4 separate regions of the Homo sapiens genome follow, and regions 2, 3 and 4 are each linked to region 1. Evidence: promoter capture Hi-C in 16 types of primary human blood cells and fetal thymus (Javierre and others, 2016). All regions are on one chromosome and are shown on one strand. Each heading gives the region's core, a stretch centred on a gene start or on the middle of the fragment in contact. The rest is flanking DNA. Distances are from core to core; before and after follow the strand shown.

Region 1 (3,114 bases), core at 324-2,823:
ATTACCGGCACCCGTCACCACGTCGGCTAATTTTTGTATTTTTAGCAGATTGGGAGTTTCGCCATGTTGGCCAGGTCGTTCTCGAACTTCTGACCTCAGGTGATCCGCCCACCACCTCGGCCTCCCAAAGTGCTGAGATTACAAGCGCCCGCCACCACGCCCGGCTAATTTTTGTATTTTTAGTACAGATGGAGTTTCGCCATGTTGACCAGGTCGTTCTCGAACTCCTGACCTCAGGTGATCCACCCGCTTCGGCCTCCCAAAGTGCTGGGATTACAGCACTTTGAGCCACGGCGCCCGGCCTGCAAATTAGTACTTATATACAACCCAAGTCCTCTGGCTATCTAGACAGTCTGAATTTTTTAGCAGGACTTTACAGAAGTCCTGCTAAAGATAAACAGCAAAACAAGTATTTTTACATTAACCAAATATTTTTATCTTCAAAACAATTGTTACAAAACAGAAATTTCACACAATACTAGTGAGGACAGCCTAAGACAGCTTAATCATTCACATTTCCTCTATGGGCTTGGGGTTTTTGGAAAAAAAAATCGTAGCTGCATAAACTTGGTGTAAAATTTGAAAAAGCCACTCATGCCACAATCCTCGTTTCCCTCTGCTAATGTGATCCAGATGGGAACGCTGAACGACGTAACTGCCCCATCTGCACCTTAGATTTCATTAGGGTCCTGTTCACTCTGTGCAATTAGTTAAGTGTGCTGACCATCAAATATTTACCAGGAGACAACATGTCCAGGTCAAAGAAAGGGCGTGAGAATAACATTTTAGAAAGAGTTGCACTGCAGCCAAGACTAACTCTGGGCTGCGGTCCACACTCGCCCCAGCCGACTCCTCTCATTTCCTCTCTCCCCTCTCCAGTGAGCCATTCCTTCCTGGAGTCAAAGACGGTGCAACAGGCAGGTTCCTACCTTGGTCTGCACACTTTTATCGAACTTGTCATTTTTGAAGCTAAACGTATTCTGGTGCTTCTGAGGTCTGGAACGAGCCACGTTGCCTTTCTGGGAGCTCATCGCCGAAATCAAAGCCACCCCTCGCCGGGAGCAGGCAAAAGGATGAGGGGAAAGAAAACCAACGAACTACTCCCAGGAATTGACGCTTCTGTCAATGACCCGGAAGAAACAAACGCAGCCTTTCCGCCCCGGCTCTGGGTCAGCCCACGTGACTCTTCTGGGAGGTCAAAGAGCATCGCTCTGCCCTCCCTGCTGTTAAGCCAAGCCACTCCACGCGGCGCAGCCTCGACCCCTCCGGCTCCGCGCAGCCTCTTTCTCAAACCCGGAGAACAAGTCCCACTTTCTTCGAAATGAGAATTCCCCCATTGGCCCGAATGTGTAGTCCATCAAATCAAAGGGGCGGGGAACCTTTGTTCCTATTGGTTCTTCTTTTCCGCAATCCCCGCCTCCTGCTGAGCGAGCTCAGCCTCTCCTTGAGCTCAGAGCGCCTCCCACCCTGCCGGGCGGCCTCTGATTGGTGGAAGTGAGGCAAGGCTGGGCTCCGTCTCTCCCCCCGCCCGCTAGTAGGCTGGAGCCGGGGTCAGCTTTGGCACCTTCCTCCAGTCAGTGGCCAACTCCTGGCTCAGTGGGGATTGTGCTCGTCCCCTCCGTTCCCCTCCAGTCTTCCTCCCGCTACCGGAACGAGCCTCGCGCTTGGCAGGCTGAGGAGGAGCAAAGAAAGCAGGATTAAAGAGAAGGAAGACCTGGCTAGGTCTGGGTGGCGTCTGCAGTGCCAGAAAGGGAGGCGGTGGCGGCGGCGGCTGCGACCACGGCCGCGCGGGACGTGAGGCCCGAGAGCAACCGACGGGCAGCGGCGGCCGCTCCAGCGCCCCGCACCGGGGCCGTTAGTCAGCAGAACGCGAGCTCTTGTGGAGGAGCAGGGCCGGCGCGAGGCGAGACTCGGGAGCGTGAGCGGGGCCCCTGGGGCGCCGCCGTCCTTCTTCGCCCCGGCGCCGGGGGCTGTAGCCCTGGTCCCCGCTCCTCTGTCGGGCCAGTCTGCAGGCGGAGAGAGTCGGACGGCGCCCGGAGCGCGGATCTCGCCTTGTGGAGGACAGCGCGTCGGCTGCGGTTCTCTCTCGACCCCTTCTGCCCGGCGCTTCGGCCCGGGCCGCTCAGGTGCAGGTGCGTGCGGCCTCGGGGTTTGGGGACGCCGCAGCCCGGCTCGGGGAGGGGGCGCTAGGCCGGGAGCCGCAGCGCGGGAGGGACGAGCCCGGGCCGGCGGGGGGAGGGGAGCGGGAAGCGTCTTTGTTGTTGGCGACCGGGATCCCTTCTCGGCACAGGGGAAAGGCGGGGAAGCCACTCCTCATCGGGTCTGTGTTTTTGAGAGGATTCTCTGATGGTTGCGTGAAGGGGAGCGGTAGGACAGTCCCTGCGGTCCGTGGAGCGGCCGGAGTCAGGGGGTGGGGGAGGGAGGACCGACCGACACTCTAAGAAGGTCTTTGGTCCTCCTCGGTGAAGAGAAGGGTTCCATTTCATTTCCTTTGCTTTTCTCTCAGTGGATGAAAAGATGGGGTCAGGTTCCCATTCCCCTCACTGGCGCACTGAGAGATTCGCGGGTGCCTAAAAGCTTTCTCCTGAATGTCCTTATATCTCTGTCGGGCGCGATTTTAGATTGAATCTGCACGGGGCTTGGCGATTTGTGTATTCCGGTGGGGCTGTCGTAGGGTTCTTTTTCTTTAGATGGTTGGGCTTTAATCTTATTTGTTTTCGAACTCTAAGGTAGGCTTATCAGGAATCGTTTTTGAATTGGAAAATTTAAAGGTTTTGTTTGGGATTTTTTTTAACCCCGAAACAAAGTTATGTCAAATTAGATTGTACTGTGTGGGGGCTCTCGTGAAGGAAAGAGTGTATTTAACCTGGGGTTTTTGTTTAAAAAAAAAAAAAGTTCAGATCTTTGATCTTTGGTGAGATCTCTGCCAATGCCAGAAGAGAATTTTTTGTAAATGATGCTTTAAGTCAGTGTGAAGTAGATTTGGTAAGCAAAAGGATGAATAACGGAATACAGAGGGTGACCTTTAAATTTCGCTGTTTATGAAATGTGTTCCTGTTTAATACTTTTTGTGATATATGATGCTTGATCTATAGATGATTCATTTGGAATTTT
Region 2 (3,114 bases), core at 237-2,736, 1.5 Mb after region 1:
CAAAAATAAATAAATAAATATAAAAAGAGAACAGGGGGTGTGCACATATAGACAGTACATAGAGGTAACTCTGAGATGTCTGCATACAAGGAAGATGGCAAATGGAGTAACAGTGCAGGAGGATATGGGGTCAAGGGGGCACAGACGCAGAAGTATACATATAAAGACAGGAGGGAGGACACTTTTTTGTGCTGAAGTGAATGATTTAGAACAGAGCAACAACTTGATAAGCAGGAGATGGGGTAATTTTAGAAACAGTCATTAAATAGCCTAGAGGGGAAGGGAACCTGGTGCCACATGGAAGGATTTGCCTTAGACAGGAGCAGGAACAGTATATCAGGTGACAAGAGAGAAGGCAGCGTCTGGGTGGAAAGGTAGGCAGGATGGAAGATATGATGGTGGGAAGAGGAGGTAGTTCTTGTCAAATTGCTTTTATTTTCTCAGTAAAATAAGCAGCAAGTTTCTCAGCTCAGAGTGAGGAAGGGAGGGGTGTTGGAAGTTTGAAGAGAGAAGGTGCAATATAGTCATTTCAGCGTGTGGGAAAGTAAACTGACGAGGGAAATGCACACGGACAGTGTTGAGAGCCCACTTGAGATGTATGATCATAAATTTAGAGTGACAACAGTTAGCCCTGTCATTTTTGTCCAGTGTGTTAAGCTGGACAGAATCAAGAGTTTGGCCAGATGGTCCCAGGAATGAGAGAGTAGGGGGAGGTGCATGCGAAAGAATGATATAGTGGAAGACCATGAAATCTTAAGGTGGGTAGGAGAGATGTAAGAATGAAAGGTCAATGACAGACAGTGAAAAAGTAGACTGGAAGTCAAAATAGGGTCAAAGAATTGTTCAAATGTGGTTATTTGAGCAAATAAGCTGGGAGAGAAAGAAGTGTTGGTCAGGAAGGAGGATGATGGTCGGAGGTGGTGCTGTTATTTGGTGATGAAAAGATTGAAGATACCCATGTGACAGTGGGGTGGAGGAAAAAAATGATTGCTGTTCAGGTACCAGGGTTTCAGATAGGTCATTAATCTATTGGGATGCTAAATTCACCAAAAATGTTAATAGGAGTTGGGTGGAGGTGGGGGACTGTGAGTCAGGTGCTAGAATCTTCGGGGAATGAGGGGGAGTGCAGGAGAGCCTGCAGATGACAGCCACAAAGCGGAGGTGGTATAGTCTGATGGCAGGTACTTCAAAGCAGCTGGGGTGGAGGGGGAAGAAAGAAGAGTCTATCTTGGTGAATAATTCTCCTGCCAAGGGTTTGTTCTGAATTCCACTCTCTAGTATCTCACCAAGCTTCCTTCCCTCTTTTGGCAGCTGAGAGGCCATCCAGGGTAAGGATTTTTTCAGGGTCGTGGGGTCAGAAGGAAACCAGCAAACAGTCAGGACTTTTATTCCCTCTTCTCTGCTACCAAAATACCAAGGCAGTGTTTTGGGTATTTAAAAGAACATTTTAAATGTCCTTGTTTGTTTCTGCCTCTGTGCAACATTGTGCTGGGAAGGACAGGGAGCTGGTAACCATGGCAGTGGAGCAGAGGGTGGTGGTGAAGAGGTGGTTTTTAAATGGGGTGAACTTCAGGCAGGCGGCACCCAGAGCTGGAACCCCCACGGCCTCCTTGGAGTCCTTTGTTCATTCAGCTTACTTAGGGAGAGAGCCTGCATTCTTCCCCGCTGTGAAGCAAGCTTTGAAAGGAAAGGTTTTGCCAGACTCCATAAGGAGAGGGTGTGTCCCTAGGAGCAGGTTTTGGGGTTCTGCCTGAAAACCTTGGTCGGCAGAGAATTTTGGGCACCCTGTTACGAACAGGACAGTCTGTGATGGCAAAGAAGCCAGCTCTGCAGCATCCTGGATGCAGAGTTCTTACACACCGTTAGCTGTCTCACCACTTCTCCCTGGACAGGTGGCCACTCGTGGGGGTGGCCCAGAATCCTGGCCAAAAAAGACAGCCAGGCAGGGCCCCCACAGGAAGGTAGCTGGCAGGGGAGTCAGGAGGAGAGGAAGGGGGAGGGAAGCAGTCACCTCTTCCACGTTCCTGGATAGGGAGCCTTAAGACCCTTTTCAGGACAAATAAGTGCCCCCCAAAAAGCGGACACAGGGCAAGGCAGGACAGGACAGGGCAAACCTGGGGCACAGCTCGGGGCCAGGGAAGTCCCATGACTGCAGTGTTCAGCTGCAGGTTTCCCAGCTGCTCTGGGCGGGAAGCGGCGCCGGGAGATGGGGGCGGGGAGAAGGGAGGGGAAAAGAGGAGGAGGGAAGTAAACAGGAGACCACAGAGAGAGCCAGTTCCCGGCGTTCAGAGAACACTAGCCGCCTCCGGTCCCCGGTGGGTGGCTGTATGTGTGGAAATGAAACTGGGAGGAGGAGGGAGAGAGGGAAGAGCGGGCACGCACTTCTCGGCTGTCATCCACCTTGCCTCTTCCGACCCTCCAGCCCGCTCCCCACCGGGGTAGGGGGTTGGGGGAGGTGGGAGGAAAACAGTTCAGCAAACGCCCACCTCCAAGTACCAGTAGCTGGTTCAGCTGTCGGTGAATCAGACACTGTCTCAGCAGCTTGTCACCTGCGCTTGGGAGGGGAACAGAGGGCAACCTTGGAACTTGGGAGGGGGAGGTTGGGAAAGTGCAGGATCCAGCACTGGGCCTGGGCCTGGGCGTAGGGGTGACGCCTACGGCTCGGAAAAGGGCTATCCACCTCCCTACACCTACACACGTCTCGACCCAGTACCCGGACGCCGAGTAGAGGGGGTGGGACAAGAGCATGGGGGCCGTACAGAAGGGGGAACTGGAAGAAGGGGAGGGGAGAATGGGTTGGGGGTGTGCTGCGGCGGGAAGCGCTGGGTGCCGGGCGGGCGCGGCCGCGGGGAGAGCTGCTGCCCGGTGCCTGCCCGCGCGAGGTTATGCGAGGTAACCGAGCGGAGAGGAGGAGGGAGGCGGCGGGGGCCGCGGGCCGGGGTGTCTGGCACTCGTTGGACAAAGAGATGATGAAACGTGAGCGCTATATTTACCAAGGGGGTGGAGACGGGGCGGGGGGGGCGGAGAGTAAAAAGGACAAACTGTTCCACAACAACCACAGGAAACACAGCCCATTCTGACTCACTGGGAGGGCCACACCGAACCCCTCGCAGG
Region 3 (3,114 bases), core at 1-2,500, 1.3 Mb before region 1:
TTTCTAGAAGGAGCTCAGATACAAGATTTTACTTGCGATGGTTTTAGATGTTCTTCCCCTCCAAACCTCATGTTGAAATTTGATCCCCAGTGTTAAAGGTGGGGCCTAGAGGGAGGTATTTGGGTCCTGGGGCTGATCTCTCATGAAGAGATTAATGCCGTCACTGGGAATGAGTTCTTGCTCATGAGAACCACGAGAGCTGGTTGTTAACGAGGCTGGCACCTCCCCATTCTCTCTCTTGCTTCCTTTCTTGCCATGTGGTCTCTGCACACACCAGCTCCCTTTCCTCTTCTGTCAGGAGTGGAAGCAGCCTGAGGCTCTCACCAGACATAGATACCCAAACTTGAATTTGTTAGCCATCAGAATCCTGAGCCAAATAAACCTTTTTATCTTTAAAAATTACCTAGCCTCAGATATTCCCTTATAGCAACACAAAATGGACTAAGAAATTAGTCTTTATAAAACAAGAGGCATTTCCTAAAGTATCTGAGTTGTACCTTAGCAAGAGAAAGCAAAGCGTTCCGAAAATCTCCAGATGTGTCTGAGGTTATGTCTTTGGCCAGATCTCTCTTCAGTTCTGAGAAAAAAGAAAAATAGATTTTATAGTAAACCAGTGATGAATAATAATAAGAATATCTGACATCTCTAAGTTGGTTGAAAATTCACAGTGCCACAGTGTTCAATGACTTATGGAACATGTTGCAAAATATTATCATTTTTAAATAAGAAGAGAAAAATTAAAGCAGGTAAATTTTTGGATCATTGAATTTATTTCATATGAAGCAATGGGAGCAATTTAGATAATACTGTGATTGAAAACTCACAGTCATAAAGCTTTCGTTAAGAATAAATTGTATAGGTATACATTAGTAATTAATTCTGAAATACAACATGGCAGAATTTAAGCAATAGAATGAATAAAATAATTGTTTAAAAGAACAAAATGAGGTACTTGCTTGAATGCAAATTATTTATTTAGTTTAAAAACTATAAATGTCTTATAAGTAATGCAGTTTGATGATTTATGTGTGTGTAAACACTTCTGCTTAACTACATAAAATAATACTGTAATAGGAAAAAATAATTGAATTTATAATTGACTAGTGCTATGGTTTTCATATTGTTTGTTTGGCCCTGCCAAGTCTCATGTTGCAATTTATTCTCCACTGTTGAAGGTGGGGCCTGTTGGGAGATGTTTGGATGATGGGGGCAGATCCCTCATGAATGGCTCGGAGTGAGTTCTCATTCATAGTTTCTTTAAGAACTGGCTGTTGAAAAGAGCCTGGCACCTCCTTTTCTCTCTCTCCCTCTCTGCACACATCTGCTTCTGTCTGCTTTCTGCCATGAGTAGAAGTAGTATGAGGCCCTCATCAAAAGCAGACGCTGGTCCCATACTACTTGTACAGTATTTCCTTTCTTTTTACATTACTTGGTCTCAGATATTTCTTTATAGCAACACAAACGGACTAAAACAACTTGAAACTGGGCAATGTAATAAACTATCACTGGCCTATATCTTGGCCATATGAAAAATATATAAACACTTATTTTTATAAACTATGTTTTATCAAACAAAAATAATCATCATTATTACCACTGACACATGGATCTAACATAAACATTGGTAATTAAATAAGAATTGCAGAAAATGAGGTTTAAAAGCTTCCTTATTTTTATTCTTTTATTAAATTCCTCTGAAAATGATATGCAAAAGCTATTGTATTCTCCATGCTTGGTATGAGAATCAAGCAGAAAGATCTTCTATATGCCATATATTGCATTGGGAAAGCCAAAAAGCCAGCAGCTCAGGGAAATGAGAGTAGGAAAATGGTAAGAGACTTGCAATTACCCTCTTTTCAGTGTTGAGCACATCATTTAAATGAGATGCTTCACTGGAGAGATAAAATAAGCTAAGACTAGTCTTTTATTCTGTGAATTTAACTAGAGATAAAGTGAGTCTCTTATGTTCATAACGATAAAGTTAAGGTTTCCAACAGAGAATTATAAGCACCTAATTCTTTACTTTTTCAAGGACAAATGAAAAACATTTTGTTAGGAGATTTTTTTGTTATTATATATTCTTTTCAAAAAAAATGACCTTGGGACATTTTTATAAAATACATTCCAGAATAATAGAAAAGTGTTTTTCAGAAATTTTTAAAAATTCAATGCTCTGAATTGAGGTTTCCATTATAATCGTATGTGGCCATTTATCCTAGAGGAACATTTTCTATTAAAACGCAAGCTTGATGCGGATTGGGACACCATCTCCCTTGTCAGCAACCTAGCAACTCAAGCGTTGCCTGGTAACAGCATTTAATAGACATGTGCCAAACAATAAAGAAACATTTTGATATGTGGAGATTCCAAAGCTGCCATAATTACCATAGACAGTCAATTTTAAGAAAGTATATTAGATTTCCTTTTCAAATAAGGCGTTTGGACTGTTGGACATTACAACTTACCCTCTCTGTAGACCCTGTTAATGTCTCTGATTTCTTTGTTAGTTCTTGATGCCAAAATCTCAATTAGAGTATCTTCATCAGTTCCAAGGCCCTAAATTTGAAGAGAAGAAAAGGATAAATGTAGAAAAAAATCTTCATGCAAGAGGATCAATGAGTTTTTGGTGTTCCAAAATTTGTTTGACTCTGTCATTTAGTAAATTTCACCCACAACATTTAATAATTACAATAAGCTCTATTACATTGCCCTAAAACAAAACAAGTTTATCATCAATATTTTGGGTAAAAATAAAAATGCAAATATATGACTCATATAGTGACATGACATGGAAGGTGTTAGTGCCAACATTTCTGTTTTCATTTATATATTAATTCCTTCATTGAGGTATTAATTTATTTATTCTTCAAACTCCCACTGATTGACAGGTACTATACTAGATTTTGAAAATAACATAAGCATAAGTGACTTGCCCAATACATCCTCTTGAGGAAAGGAGTTTGCTCAAATTGGGCGATTTACCTTCATGGCAGCACGAAGTTCATCAGCATCAAATTGCGCTGGAGTTTTTAGCAGAGCTAAAACAACCTCCTCAAGGTGACCTGTAAGGGCTTTCTTCAGTGTTTCATCCAGGGGCTACAAAAAAAAAGATTA
Region 4 (3,114 bases), core at 176-2,675, 1.0 Mb before region 1:
TCTCCATATGTGTGTGTGCCTGTGTGTGTGTGTGTGTGTGATTTAGTTTGTTCATAAGGAGGAAAAAGAAGATGAAACATCATTTGTCGATTACTCTCAAGTTAAAGGGACAGCTCCTCCTCTGCTGCATAGTCCTGGCATACCATAAAAACGTACAATCCTGGGTCCAGTTCTAAAATGTGCAACCTTGGTCCCTAGGTTCTCACAAAAGCCATTATTTCCTCTGTAAGGAATAGAAGTAGTCTGATGAAATCTTTTCCTCATATGCAGCAATTCCCAGAAATATGCTATTCTACAAAATAAGCTCTCAGGGCAGGATGATGTTTACCTCAAAAATATAGGTCTCAGGCCCTGTGGTTTCTAGGCAGAAAAGATCTGCTTAAGTGAGGTTAGGGCTAAAGAATTATGGATGCATAAATGATACTTAGTAAATATTTGCTGAAATTAAATGGGCAGGTGTGGTAACCTGTCTCCAAAGCAACTCCTTTTGCCTACATTCAGGAATGCCTGGTATAAAGGGACTGTTCTTACATAATTATCCAATAAAATACAATTGAGAATGATCATATAAGAAGTGAGATGACAAGCCAAGTATGTTATGAAGCCTTGAGCTTTCATCGCCTGGACATCAAATAAACCAGTATTTGAATCCACAAACAACTGTGACTCTGGGAGAAGAAAGCAGCAAAACACAGCTGTTTGGGCATGGCCAGAGCGCCACTCTCAAGTTATGTAACAGCTGTTGTGTAATTGTGCATTTAACTCAAAACACATTTTTGAGAGAGAAAACAATTAGACTTTCCAAAAAGAAAGAAACAGAGAAATGTTGAAAGAACACAGAAGTTTCTATCTGGTCATCAAACATAAGACACGGGGGAGTCAAAGGCATTGGGAATGATATTGCCTTAGAATCTAGGGAGTTGGCCCGTGCACCAAATCTGGCCTGCCTTCTGTCTTTTTAAATAAAGTTCTATAGGAAAACAACTACACCCATTAATTTACCTATCATCTACAGTTTCTTTTAAATAGAGTCAAGTAAATTATATCAGAAACCATCCAGCCCAGAGGCTGAAAATATTTACAGAAAAAGTTTTGCAAATTCTTGTCTTAGATGAATAAAAAGTTATGTTTAAATGCCTGTAAGGGTGACTATTCACTGAGAAAACCAAAGCAGTTGATGCTTGAACCCATGTAGGAGTTCTCTTGTGGAGAATAGGGTAGAAATAGTAAACAGAAATAAGAGTCCAGGTTTGGGAGTCAGACTGGCCTGAAATGAAATTCTGGTCCTGCACTAATAGATCTGTGACCATAAGTAAGCTACTCACCCTCTGTATGTCTCTAAAATGGGGATATGAAATGAGGGTAGAAAGGGAAACAAGTGCTGCACCTGATTTGGGCAAACAATTCAGAAATTTTTAGTTTCCCTATGTAAGTCCCATATTCAGGGGAATTGGCAAGTTTCACTAGAAAAAAAAAAATTGGTTGATTCTCCACAATCAGAGCATCCAGAGTATTTTATCTTGTTCCTATTGTAACGTTTGCTAGAGCTACAATACAATAAAGTATTGTACTTAAAATGGGAGTAACACTGTTTAAAAAATTGTCCTTCAGCTAAATATTAATTTAAGAACTTGAATTGTTTGGAAGCCCTGCTTAAATTTAGTCTTTGTACACTGCCTATGTTGATAAATACAGACAACTTCCAAAACCAGGATTACTTTCATTTTAAATGAGTATTAATAGATGATATTGCCATATTTCTAATTGTGGTGATTGTGTGTGACAGTGTGTTCCGAATTCCCTAAAAGTCCTGCTGGCTTTTCTGTTCACATATAGAAAATAAAGATAATTTAGGGCTTCTGAGATCACAGTAGGTCTACTTACCCAGCACTGAAAATACACAAGACTGATACGATATTTTAAAACTAACTTAGGGTAGGGTGTAGATAAAGGGCCTTTCTTCCCCAAACAGCACCTTGATTTTCTGGGAGATGGACTGATTTCCTGAAAGCCTTGTCCTGAAGACACCTGGCCAGCTTCTACTGAGAACAAGTGCCCTTTTAGACTCTTTTCAATCCTCAAATTCTCTGATTCCAAGTCTGTCAGAGAACAGAAAGTTACATAGTAGCATTAAAAAGCATGAGAAGTCAAAAAAATAATAACTGGCCTTAGTGGCCAGAGCAGCTGCTGCATACACTTATCACAGGTTTCGGCTTTGTAAATTAATTCATCTGCAAATAGTGCACTGTCTCCAGGTACAAATTCGATGCTGGAGCACTGGTTTCTTAAGGATTTAAGTTTAAAGTCAAAGGCTTCCTGCCCTAGGTGTTACAAATAAGTAGTGTCGTTTTCTTTTTTTGCTCTGAGTTTGTTCATCCAATCGTATCCGAGTATGCAAATAAACTTTAGCCCGTGCAGATAAAAAAGGAACAAATAAAGCCAAGTGCTCTATCAGAACCAAATTGCTGAGCCAGTCACCTGTGTTCCAGGAGCCGAATCAGAAATGTCATCCTCAGGCACGCCAGACTTACCTGTCCTACTCACCGATTTGAAGATTCAATATACTAAGGTGAGTAAAACTTCTATTTTCTGCTTTGACTCGGGTTTGCAAAAACTGCATTTATGTAAAGCATTAAAGGTCAATTTAAGTAAACTTGTGTAAAGAGCCCTTTGCAAATATAAAAATAAAAGGCATGCAAAATGCAGGTCTCAGTTTAGTGTCCTGATCAAATATGATCTAAATCATATCAGACAATCTTTCATAAATTTATTTCTTAAAATATTTCCAAGCGAAAGGAATTCTCTTCTGTGTGAAAGGATTCTTATACCAGGATTCAGAGGACTTTACTAAGCACTTCTATTAACTTCACTATAGCCGGCATGTATGATAAGAGAGCAAAATACTCACTAGAGAAGCTTACTGGAAAGAACCAAACGAGTAGGAACAATAGAAAGCAAACAAGGAGAAAGAGAGCATACTGAAATAACATAACTTTCCAATATGTTTAATAAAATGAGTGTTAAAATAGGGGGACTTAAGTCTGATAATTGGATTCGAAAATCTTCAGATGGACTTGCATTATTTTGCATATTTTGGTGGGAGGAAGAAAAGCA

The links. Contacts are between HindIII fragments. The CHiCAGO score rates a contact against its expected background, and 5 or more counts as called.
Region 2: a fragment that was not itself captured here is called in contact with the fragment with the promoter of ABHD17B in region 1 in 1 of 17 cell types (total B cells); the score reaches 5.3 in total B cells.
Region 3: a contact is called between a fragment that was not itself captured here and the fragment with the promoter of ABHD17B in region 1, in 1 of 17 cell types (activated CD4 T cells). The highest score is 5.9, in activated CD4 T cells.
Region 4: a fragment that was not itself captured here is called in contact with the fragment with the promoter of ABHD17B in region 1 in 1 of 17 cell types (M2 macrophages); the score reaches 5.3 in M2 macrophages.

The regions. Positions count from the first base shown.
Region 1 is chr9:71,909,652-71,912,765 of GRCh38, reverse strand. ABHD17B (abhydrolase domain containing 17B, depalmitoylase) reads left to right here and starts at 1,573. Exons shown (of 4, transcript NM_001025780.3): 1 at 1,573-2,132. C9orf85 (chromosome 9 open reading frame 85) reads right to left here and starts at 1,127. Exons shown (of 4, transcript NM_182505.5): 1 at 930-1,127. The coding sequence starts at 1,031. RefSeq lists enhancers at 860-919, 930-979, 1,050-1,359 and a silencer at 1,810-2,049. The HindIII fragment of the contact is 4,051 bases long and covers 1-2,579 here.
Region 2 is chr9:70,420,059-70,423,172 of GRCh38, reverse strand. The region is part of intron 1 of KLF9-DT (KLF9 divergent transcript); the gene reads right to left. Among named protein-coding and RNA genes, the nearest start is that of KLF9, 7.0 kb to the right of the region's middle. RefSeq lists a silencer at 2,730-2,819. The HindIII fragment of the contact is 387 bases long and covers 1,293-1,679 here.
Region 3 is chr9:73,160,245-73,163,358 of GRCh38, reverse strand. ANXA1 (annexin A1) reads right to left here. Exons shown (of 13, transcript NM_000700.3): 5 at 2,983-3,096; 6 at 2,466-2,556; 7 at 498-577. Among named protein-coding and RNA genes, the nearest start is that of ANXA1, 9.9 kb to the right of the region's middle. The HindIII fragment of the contact is 828 bases long and covers 837-1,664 here.
Region 4 is chr9:72,952,390-72,955,503 of GRCh38, reverse strand. It overlaps ALDH1A1 (aldehyde dehydrogenase 1 family member A1), which reads left to right and starts at 2,451. Exons shown (of 13, transcript NM_000689.5): 1 at 2,451-2,569. The coding sequence starts at 2,504. The HindIII fragment of the contact is 2,986 bases long and covers 1-2,918 here.